Linked DNA regions of Homo sapiens: region 1 is linked to region 2. Evidence: promoter capture Hi-C in human tissues and cell types (Jung and others, 2019). All regions are on one chromosome and are shown on one strand. The core of a region is centred on a gene start or on the middle of the fragment in contact, and the rest is flanking DNA. Distances in the headings are between cores, read along the strand shown. Region 1 has its middle 17 kb from the start of CCDC149. Region 2 holds the start of LGI2 (leucine rich repeat LGI family member 2).

The links. The method cuts DNA at HindIII sites, captures the fragments that hold promoters and counts their contacts. A contact is called where the count stands out against the background at its distance.
Region 1: a fragment that was not itself captured here is called in contact with the fragment with the promoter of LGI2 in region 2 in 2 of the 25 tissues and cell types used here (H1 embryonic stem cells and dorsolateral prefrontal cortex).

The regions. Positions count from the first base shown.
Region 1 is chr4:24,927,376-24,932,911 of GRCh38, reverse strand. It overlaps a transcript of CCDC149 not described here. Among named protein-coding and RNA genes, the nearest start is that of CCDC149, 17 kb to the right of the region's middle. The HindIII fragment of the contact is 7,343 bases long and covers 276-5,536 here.
Region 2 is chr4:25,028,927-25,034,420 of GRCh38, reverse strand. LGI2 (leucine rich repeat LGI family member 2) reads left to right here and starts at 3,475. Exons shown (of 8, transcript NM_018176.4): 1 at 3,475-3,924. The coding sequence starts at 3,728. It overlaps LOC124900684 (a long non-coding RNA gene), which reads right to left and starts at 4,313. Exons shown (of 2, transcript XR_007058083.1): 1 at 4,188-4,313. The HindIII fragment of the contact is 9,452 bases long and covers 1-5,494 here.

The DNA of each region.
Region 1 (5,536 bases), core at 2,698-5,197, 100 kb after region 2:
CAGATCATTGCTCTGATGGCTCTAAATTGGTTCGCACAGCTCCATTTTCTTTCTAAATGAATAGGACCTTTGCTTTTCTGATTGTGGACATGTGAGATTGATCACCAGGTCCCTGACACTTCCCTCTGACTAATGTTTTCCCTGGTGTTTTCAGGTATTCTGCCCTATTCATTTCACTTTGGAAGCCAGTGCTGGGTTGCAATTTAATTTTTCTAAATTTAGTCTGTAGAAGGCTCATGACCAATGGGAGGGGATTACAGCTTACCAGGAATCCACATTTAAAGAAAAGGAAAGTCGTCTCTGGGGATCTGGATTTATTTACAGAGTTTGAGGACTCAAAAGAAGACCAAATAGACTTAGCAGCCACACTTCCTTACTTCAATTTAACAGTCTCTTAAGCACAAAATCAAACACAATATAAATAAAGTGGCTTGACTCTTTCCTGAGTGTCTTACCTTAACTTCTCCTGTCTTCTGTCTTGCTGTCCCCTAGGTGTTCCCAAAGTCCCCATTCTATCTTCTGTGAAGACCTCTAGCTTTTAAAGGAGAAATAATCACATCTCCTAAAGTGATTCCTGGTACAGCTGGAGCAATCTGGCAGTGCTGAAACTTAAATTACTAAAAGATCAGATCTGTTGAAGATTTTCATTAGAAAAGGTACTAATTGTATGCAGTGTCTTTTGGAAAACCTGTTAGGTGCCTAAAACTGTACTTGGCATTATGACAAATACAGAAACAAATCAATTTTATATTTTAGTCTTTGCTAACAAGGAAGTTAAAAATAGAAGCCACAATATAATATAATAGTTTAGAGCAAGCACTGTGGAACTAAACTGGCTGTGCTAGAATCCTGTTAGAACACTTACACTTTCTGTGTCTCGGTTTTCTCACCTGTAAGCCTTTCTGTGCCTCAGTTTTCTCACCTGTAAGTTGGACACAAAAAGTGTAGCTACTTCATAGGGTTACTATGAGGATTTAAATGAGTTAATAAATATAAACAGAAGAGTGTCTGACATAGTAAGTGATTTTTATTTTATATAGACATGGATATGGATTATGCATATATATATATATATATATATACATACTCTCCATACAATATAAGGGAGGAACATATTACAGTGCTGCCAGAATTCAGAGGCAGGAGACATTGTTTGTAGCCAGAGGAAACCAGGAAGGCTTTCTGGAAGATGCATAAGTGGCAAAGACAATAATGCTCATAAAAATATGCACTGCATAACCTCCACCTGCTTGATCCCCAGTGCTTTTGCAATTAGGGTCATGTGACTAGTTCTAGCCAATTCGATGTGTATAAAAGTGCTGGCTCATTTGGCCTCTCTTCTCTTCTGCTGCAGTGAATGAGAAGGTCACTAACCCCAGGTGTTGCAGCTAAAGATGTTAGAAAGCCCATCAGCCTGGGTACCTGAGTGGTGGTGTAGAGCAGAGACACATCCCCCCACCCAAACACACACACCTCACAATGGATATGTAGTAGGAGCAAAATATAAACCTATCATGTGCTAAGGCACTGGGAGTTTAGGCTTAATTTTGCTCTGTGGCATAGCCTTGCCTGTACTGAGATATATATATATATATATATATTTTAAAATAAATAAACATATATAAATACACATATACATACACAGATACATATGCATATTATACAATATATACAAATATTTTATAATACATTATGTATGTATACATATACATATATATATATACACACATATACATATATATGATGATCATGGTGGAACAGCCTAAAAAAATAGAAATGGGACAAAGTACAGCATATTGAACACATATTTGATTAGAAAGAAAAGCTAGGGTTACATCACTGTAGGCTTTAAATTCCAGACAAAAGAGTTTAGACTTTATTCCACGAGGCAAGAGGAAACCATTAAGTATGTGTTACCTGGAATAATTACACCAAGCAGGTAGTACCAGTGAGAATCCTTTGAAGAGCAAGAGCCTTCTATAATTTTAGGTATGAGTTTGTGCCAGAGGGTCCCTCCCTTCTCTAGCTCAGAACACCAGAAGTTTGTTTTATAAGTTAGTATCAAAAAAAGTTAAATTTTATGATCTCTAAAACAGAAATTTTTTATCATGATTTCTAACTTATCTCTATAAACTCTCCCTGTCTAGAGTAGCAGGAACCCTCTTGTTTGCTGTTGAAACTGGAATAATATCTCAGTATGACAACTTCTAGGAAGAACAACCAAAACCTTTTCTGCTTCCCCTCATTGAGGGGGCAGGGAGTTGGGGAGTGGCTGAGTGAGAACATTTCTGGAAATGGGAGTGGTCTTTAAATACCCTACAACAAAAATTAAAATTTTAAAGTGGACATATTTGTGCCCAAAGTAGAAAAAAATCATTTGCCTAAGAAAACCAAGAATCGTAGTTTTTGTACTTTTTCAGCAATAGTAAAGCCTATTTATTACACTGGTTAAGGTAATCCTAGCTGCTGTAATCATTCTGTTTATGTAATCACATAAACCCAAAATTGTGCAATGGCTGAAACATGGGACACATTTATTTCTTACACAGAATCCCAAAATGGTGCTTCTGAATGGTAGGTGGCTTCCCTCCATGTGATGACTCAGGGATGCAAGCTCTTTCAGTCTCCTGGCTCTGCCAGCTCCTAGCTGTGGTTTCCAAGGTCACCATGCTTACCTGTACCAAGCTGGCAGAGGGGAAAGGAAATGGAAGGTCATGCATGGAGATTTAATGCAGGTTTAAAAGTGGCACACATCATTTCTGTTCACTTTCCACTCACCCAGTTACAGGGTCTCCTCCAGCTGAAAAACAGGCAAGTAAATGTCATTTGTCTGTATGTCCAGGAAAAAGAGGAAAGGTGTAAAAGTGTTTGGAGAATCATAGCAGGCTTTGATAAACACTTTTCTTGTCAACACATTCTTGTCTATTAAAAGAATGATAGTAAACTTCTAGTTTCTTGTTCTTTCCATAGACATTTGTTGAGCACCTGCATTCAAAGTGCATGCTTGTTGGTTGATGGGGGGAGAGGCAGAGAGTCAGAGAGACGGTCTAAAGTTCATAATCAGGTAGGGAAAAAATATTATATAAGCAATAAAATATAAAGCAGAAAATGACAAGAGCTCCCAAAGAGGCTCAGATAAGACTTTTCAGGAGTTCAGAAGCAGGGCTAGCTGGAAGATTCTGCGATGTGAGTGGGTGTTCTAGGCAAAACATAAGCAGAGGCACAGAGGGAGGAAATCAGGAGGTCTTTAGGACAGAAAGTCAGAGATTCACTTGGACTGCGGTGAAGGGTGTAAGAAGAGGAGAGACAGAGTTTACGTTGGAAAAGGGTGTTGAGGTCTGATCTTTCAAACTCTCCATAATCACACATGATGTGCATTTCTGAGAGAGGCTATTCAATCACCTATCTCCACAGTTTCTATTTTTTCCCATCTACTTTTCATTAAGCAGGTACCCTGCCCCCTTTCCACTTCAAATAATTATAAAGATGATTATGGAAATGATAGCGGTGGTGGCGCTAAGGATTAGGAGGGAGAAGAGATTTTGTAAAATTTTCTCATCTACCCAGAAATCTTTCTGCCTCTGAGAAGAATCCTGGAGACCATGATTCATGAGCCGCTGAGAGCCGATTCCCACTCCCTGGGAGCCCACATGAGAAAAAGTGCTGCAGACGACGGGCTGTTTTTGAGAATCAGCAGAGCAGGGCTGCTTGGCAATCAGTTTAGGAAACACAGAAGTCATAAACCAGCACATTTAGGCCAGCTTGGAATGGGACCAAGCATCTTCACCAGACCATGGGATGGCAAAACCCTGGTGTAGAGGCTAGATTTCCATACCTTGGCCTTTCATAAAAGAACCAGTGGATAAAAGCTCTCTGCAAAAAGGGCACTGATTCTTTGTTTAAATTAGGCGGACACATAGCTCAATGCATGACACTGTAGCAACCTGGCAGATGAAGTTTAGCAATAATGCAAGATCATTTCAGTTGACCATAAATGTCACCTGAAAAGGGGAAGTGTGCTGCCCCGCCTGTCACATGAAGTTCACCCCATTCCTCTTGTTCTTTGCCTTCCTGACCTTCTGGACTCATTTCAGCTTTTGGACACATTAGGGAGTGACAGGAAGACACCTCTGCCCTGTGAAGACCATGACAGCACCTGTGTCAGTTTCCTAGGGTTGCTGTAACAAATTACCATGAACTCAGTGGCTGAAAACAACAGAAATTTATCTTTCACAGTTCTGGAAGAGCATTCCAAGCAGGGGATCCCTGAGGTGGGAAAGGGCCAGGTGAGTGTGATTGGAGCAAAGAAAGCAAGAACAAGAGTAGTAGGAGCTGAGAGGGGATTCTTGGATCACCCAGTCATGGTTAGATTCATATATTGACAATGAGAAGGAGTCAGTGATTTCATGAAGAAAATGAAAAATACTGGTGGTCCATGTTAAGCCTTCGACTTTTATGCATACCATCCATTCTGTTGGAATTCCTAGGCATCCTTCAGGAAAAGCTTGTGCCCACTTTCCCTCACAATGCCCTACCCTCTCCTCCCCTTCGCCATCTTCTCCTTCCTGGGCACCTGCATCATCAACACATAGTATTAATCTTAACCTCTTTTATGCTATCACAGTCCAATGTACGTGTCTCTAGAAAAATACCGAGCATGTTGCTTTGCACACAGTAATCCCTGAATAGTGTTTTCCTTCTTTATCTCTTAAAATCCTTACCACAATTTCAAGAATTTTCACTGCAAATCAAATTTGAACTGAGTTTTTAGGGAAGTCCAAGTTTATATGCAAAGACATAAAGATGTAATAGAATCCTTTCAAAGAACTCTCTTGCTAATGCTCAATCACAGCGAACAATGTATTGCCTGACATTTTCAGATTCCCAGACCAGACATAGAATGTGATAGAGGGAGGAAAAGGGGTGAGCCATTTTATAGAGGTTTTTTTGGTTCTATCCTTCTTCTAGACTCTATTCATGGGGCAAAAGGAAGAAATTCACTTAGATTTCATGGATGTGCACAGGTATAGGTACGCTGAGTTTTTTTTCAAGCCAAGCATATATATATCCCCTGTAAAGATCTAAGGAACTCTTAAAGGACTCCAGGGTGATACAGGAAAGAATGTATGTGTGTGTGTGTGCATGAGTGTAGAGAGAACCAGAGTTGGTGTATGTTGGAGATGGAGGAGGAGGTGGTAGATCAAGTTAATATAAGGAAGTTTAATAGGCATTTGACTGCTTAGCCAAATATACGAGTAGTTCCTAGAAAACTACATCATTATACGGGAAGGGGGTTGTTTGTAAGTGGAATACTTCAGGCTAGGAGAAGGTTTCAGCACCTGCTTTAATCAACGTTACAACTATTTTTATGAAGATTTACATTTACAGAAGTTTGAGTCGTGTTCTTGAGTTCTTTGCTTATAGTTTGGAATTTTTCCATGTTTTTGGATGCAAATAAACGCAGCTGTTTGCTCTGCAAGAGCTATGGAAAACATATATTTATGCTGCATTTGTAATACAGAGAATGTTCAATTGA
Region 2 (5,494 bases), core at 2,226-4,725:
TTTCTCTTGTCTGCCACCATGTAAGACATGCCTTTCACCTTCCACCATGATTTTGAAGCCTCCCCATGAGGCCATGTGGAACTATGAGTCCATCAAACCTCTTTTTCTTTATAAATTAACCAGTCTCCAGTATGTCTTTATCAGCAGCATGAAAATGGACTAATACACACCTAAATTAGGTCTCCCCTATTCTCTTCCTTCATAGGCTCTATCAAAATTTGCAATTGCATACTCATGTATGCATTCTTTTAATTTAATATCTGTCTGCAATGAAAGTGGGGATCATGTCTGTCTTGGTCATTGTTTTATTATTGATGCCCAGCACATAGTAGGTTCTCAGTTAATACTGACAGAATTAACTGACAAGTAGCTGAACATGAGGGTACATGAACACATGAATGAATGCCATTTTGAGCTGCCAACACATGGAGTCATATAAAGTAGAACCGGTTTGAGACTTTAGAGAAGGCCACTCAAGCCTACGCCATTTCAGCCACTGTAGGAACGTGTGTTATTCATGTCATAAAGACATAGCTTGAGTAAGTTTACGTCTCAACAAGGATTTTTACAAAGATTTTTCAAAAACTCTTGCTATTTCCTGAAACAGATTGTGTCTCTCTGATTGTCTATTAAGTTTTTTTTTAAACTGCTGAGGAACTTGGAACCACACCAAAGTAATCTGCATTTCCATTTTTATATTTTAATTTATAAACTGCGCCTTATAATTTACAAGCACTCACTTACTTAGTGTCTCTAGCAGAGCCGAAACAAATACTAACTCTGCCAGCTATGCTACTCTGGCCTACTTTCTGCACCATTCCTATCAGGAACTTTTTAGTTTTTTGGGGTGGAGAGGGTGGGCTGGAGCTAGCTCTAGCTGTTGGAAGTTAAGGTTAGGAACAATGATGATATGTCACATTTATTTAGGAAAGGGTGCAGAAGGGCTCTTTATCCCCATTTTATAGATGAAAAAATAGAAGCTAGAGATGGGAATAACATGACCAAGAAGGTTTGCTTGTGATTGATGAACCTGACTTACAATCTGCATCTCTGGAATTCCTCATGCCAAGGGTCTTTCCAGAACACTAAGCCAGGCTCTCTCAACCTTGGCTCTAGCAACATTTTGACCTGGATCATTCTTGCTGAGTACTGCAAGATGTTTAGTAGCGTCCCCAGCCTCTACACATTAGACGCCAGGGGCACCCACCCCAAATATCTCCACACATGGCCAAGTGTCCCCTGAATTACCCGCAATTGAGAACCACAACACAAGACAGTGACTCTGATTACAATGGAAGGACAGAAGTCAGGAAAACCCATCTCCCTCCATAGTCCTCTCTCCGTCACTTACCTACAATCTAGTCACATAGAACTCTGCTCAAACGCCCAGTGCCTCCTTTGTGGTATTAAATGCTTTACTTTCTTGATCTCATTTAACCCCCAAATGTGGTTACAACAACCTCTTGTTTACAGGTGAAGAAATGGAGGTTTAGAAAGATCACAGCTTGCACAGCAGTAAGTGGCAGGCTGGGATTACACAATTACACATCAGTAAGTGGTAGGCTGGGATGCAAACCCCAACCTGTCTAGTCCTGAGGCCAGCATTTAGCTATGCCACCCTGCCCCCAGGCTCTCACTCAGAGGTGAGAAATAGATTTTCTTTTCCTGGGTCAGCAGGGAGTGCTCTGTTTGAGAAGCCTCCGTTCCTCTGCTCTATAAAGCAGTAGCCCATCCCTCTTAAGGGAAACATCTTTCAGGTGCACAGCACACACATCCACGATTGTGGGTCTGCATGTCTGTCGCCCTCCCAGGCTGTGGTCTGTGTCCTCAGCCCCTAACACTGGGGCTTGCTGAGTAAAGTATTTGTAAATGCATGCCCACACAGCAGCGAGGGTTAGACACAGCAGCCAGTTGTGGAGTATGATCTCCCTGGCCATGTCCTGTGTGATCTTGGACAAGATAAAAACTTCTCTGAGCTCAATGTTCCCATCCATAAAATGGGAGGACCCATTTCTCAGGACAGATGCAAGAATTAAATGATGATAAATGCAGGCTGGTTTGTACTGATGCCAGGTGCTTTTTACATAGTCACCAGCAGGGAATGTCTAACTCCCTCCATGAAGTTGCCTACGCAAAGCTCTCTTTCAATTCCTGAACCTCTTTTGGTCAGTCTGTGACCCCCTTGTAGCCAGTGGAGTTGCTCTTTTAGGGTTGTCTGTCCAGCTAGACTTTTAGCTCCCTGAGGACAGGAGCTGTTCCTTTGTTCCCTCCCACAGCAGCCAGCCTGATACCGTCCTCATGGATCTTGTCAATGGATCACCAACAATAATTGCTGAAGAAGCAATAGTATGATTCCTACTTTTGCATTCGATACTGACTTTTCTGAGTAGGTTTTAGCATCTGGCATGCTTTTCCTTGGTTTGCAGCTCGACAGTCGTGCTGTGATTCCCTTCTCCCAGCAGTTCAGGTTATTAGCCATTACTTTGTTTCCGCTTTGGTCATTTTCTTTGATTTCCTCAGCCGCACATTACCTGTGTTAAGATTTCCGCTCATTGCTTCAAACTTAAGGAGTTGAAGAGGGGCTCAGGAGGGCCCAGTTAAGGTAGCCCTTCAAGGCTCCGAGCCCCATCCTGCCCAGCCAGGAGCTGCTGGACCATCAGCCAGTCAGGATGCTTTCTGGGCGTCAGCAGCCTCATCAATAAATTAAGGATATAAGTAGGACCTGCCTCAAAAGGTTAGAAGATTAAAAGTACAGTGGCTAGAATGTATCACACCCTCAATCTCTACAAACCCTCCTCTGACTGGGGCGGGTGGGGTGACCCGTGGGCAGCTGAGCGAGGGGAAACTTTCCCGGGCTTTCCAGCTCTTTAGCAGGCAGCAGGCAGGGCCCAGAGCGCCGGGCGTGCAGGCTGCAGCGGCTTTGCTTCCCCACGTTCCTCCCATGGGAGGACTGGCTGGCTTCAGTAACCCCTGGTGCTGTGGGAGCGAGAGCCAGACCTCACTGCCCCACCGCAGAAGACAAGCAAAGCCATCCTCGCTGACCCTACCGGCAGCATGCACTTCAAAATTAATAAAGGCTGCTCCAAAGTCTCTCCTCTTCAAAGCACCCAGGGCTGCCTCCCTCCCCAGTAATCAAGCCGGTTCTCCACACTCCCCGCTCCGACTTTATTGATTTGCCTGAAAGGAACCCAGTGCCCTCCCCAGATTATACCCCTGGAGGTATTGCAGGCATCGGATCCTCCACCGCTCAGTCAGGCCCCGACGGGGGTCTCCGCCAGGCTTGGCCCCTCCCCCAAGGTCACCCAACTTTTCCCTCTGTCCCCGCGCCCGGCCCGGGGCGAGAGGGGGTGGCGAGGTGGGGGCCGGGTGGGGCGCCACGGGGCCGGCGCTGGCCCCCTCCCCCGCGGGGCGGGCCCCGCCATGCATTATTCATTGGCCAGAGCCGGGCTGCGGGCGCGAGTGCTGATGTCAGGCAGGCGCGAGTGCGGCGGGCGCAGCGGCGGCGGCCGCCCAGCAGCCCGGGCTCGGGTGGGGGGGCGCCGAGTGGGGGTGGCGGCCAGCATGCTGCTCGGCTGCGGCTCGGCCTCCCACACCCGCGGCTCCCTAGTCCTCGCCAGCAGCGGCGGCGGCAGAGCAGCGAGCGGCGCCCGCGTCTGCAGCGGCGCCGGGTCCGAGCGCGCGGCGCGGCGGTGGGGGTCGGGGCCCGGGCGGGGAGCGGGGACCGGGCATGGCGCTGCGGAGAGGCGGCTGCGGAGCGCTCGGGCTGCTGCTGCTGCTGCTGGGCGCCGCGTGCCTGATACCGCGGAGCGCGCAGGTGAGGCGGCTGGCGCGCTGCCCCGCCACTTGCAGCTGTACCAAGGAGTCTATCATCTGCGTGGGCTCTTCCTGGGTGCCCAGGATCGTGCCGGGCGACATCAGCTCCCTGTGAGTGGGACCCCTCCAGCCCCCATCCCGTCCCGCCCCACCCTGCGTCCGCCGCCGCGAGGGAGTTGCCTCTGGCGCCGGGCCAGCGCGACCCTGACCCACTCCCCAGGCCCCTTCTTTGCCTTTGTGTGGGGGACGTGGGTGGAGTGTTGGCCCCCGGGGAGGACGGTGAGGACCTGAGCCCCAGAATCTGGGAACCCAGACAGGTTCCTGTGGCAGCGTTTCTCAGAGTGTGGCCCACGGGCCACCTGCATCAGACTCACCTGGGGAAGCTTGTGCCAATGCAGAATCCAGCTGCTCTGAAGCAGTCTTTGGAGTGGAGTCCTGGAGTGTGCGTTTGACGTCCCCGGGAGACTCAAGGGTGCATTAAAGTTTGAGAGGGCGTGTGCGTGTGTGTGTGTGTGTTTGCGGGTTGGAGTTGTGTGTGTAGGGGCGTGCATAGGAGCAGCTGAACACGACCTGACTGAGTGCAAACTGGGCAGGGTGAGGCCTCACTGCCCCACATCAGGTCTGGGGCGAATGTTCACCCCGTGGCCTCCTCCCGACTTCTCCACATTGCAGGTTGCAAAAAGTCGAGGTCAAGGCATGCAGGCTCTGGGAGGGGAGGGGCCGCCCCCCGTGGCCTAGAAGAGGGGTAACAGAAGGCTGGGCAGAGGTTTGGGGCATGTTGGGCGCCTAGCCCAGTGGCCAAGTGCTTTGAAGTCAGCCTTCTTGCCCTGAGGTCAGGAGGGCTTCTTGCCCCCTTTCTCCATCACACAGTTGTGTTGGCTGCTTTTTCAGCAGGAGGAACTGACAGGAAAGGGCTTCACATTAGGTATCCACCTGCCGAGAGGTGCTTTCATCCTGCCCTCACCTGGCCACTCAAGCCAAATGACCAGCTCTCACAAGGGCGGTGGAAGGGGCTGTTGGGCTGTATCTTTACTGCTAGGACATGTTTCCTGCTAAGACCACTCTCTTGTTCCAGGCCAAGATGCCTGGGTGCCCAGTCAGTGGTGGAGGCAGGGAATCCCCGGGGTGACGTTGCTTGTGCTCAAGATACTTTCTTGTGTCCAGTGCTTCCCAGCCTCCCACCCAAGGCAAATTGTAGGGGCCTGGACCCAGGAGTGAGGGGGTTCCCATTTGCATTTATAGAAAGTCAGAAGAGTTTGGCTGGTGGGAACAGAGGACCTTTTTGATTCTTAATATTGCTAAGTCGGGTGACATGGAGGATTCCAGAAATTAGAGTTCCCCTTATTAAATCCTTCAGACCAGCAGCTGCTTAAGTGATCTGCATGCCAACTGAAAGGAATTCTGAAATAATGTATTCAGATCCTGCTGTGGCCAGAAAGGATGGGGGCCTGGGGGCAGAAATAAAGCCAAGCATCTTGCCTCCTGGTTGACCGTTTTATCTGGCAGATGGTACTGCCTCTCCCCACACAGGGGAGTTCAGGTGTCTGTGAGTTTTTCCCCAGGGCTTTCATGTTGCATTTAATCAGGAGTGCTCTGTCTTTCAGAGATGGGGTCCCAAGAGGAATGCTTAATCCTACCCCAGCATTTCATAGGCCAACACAACGCTGTGTCTACACAAACA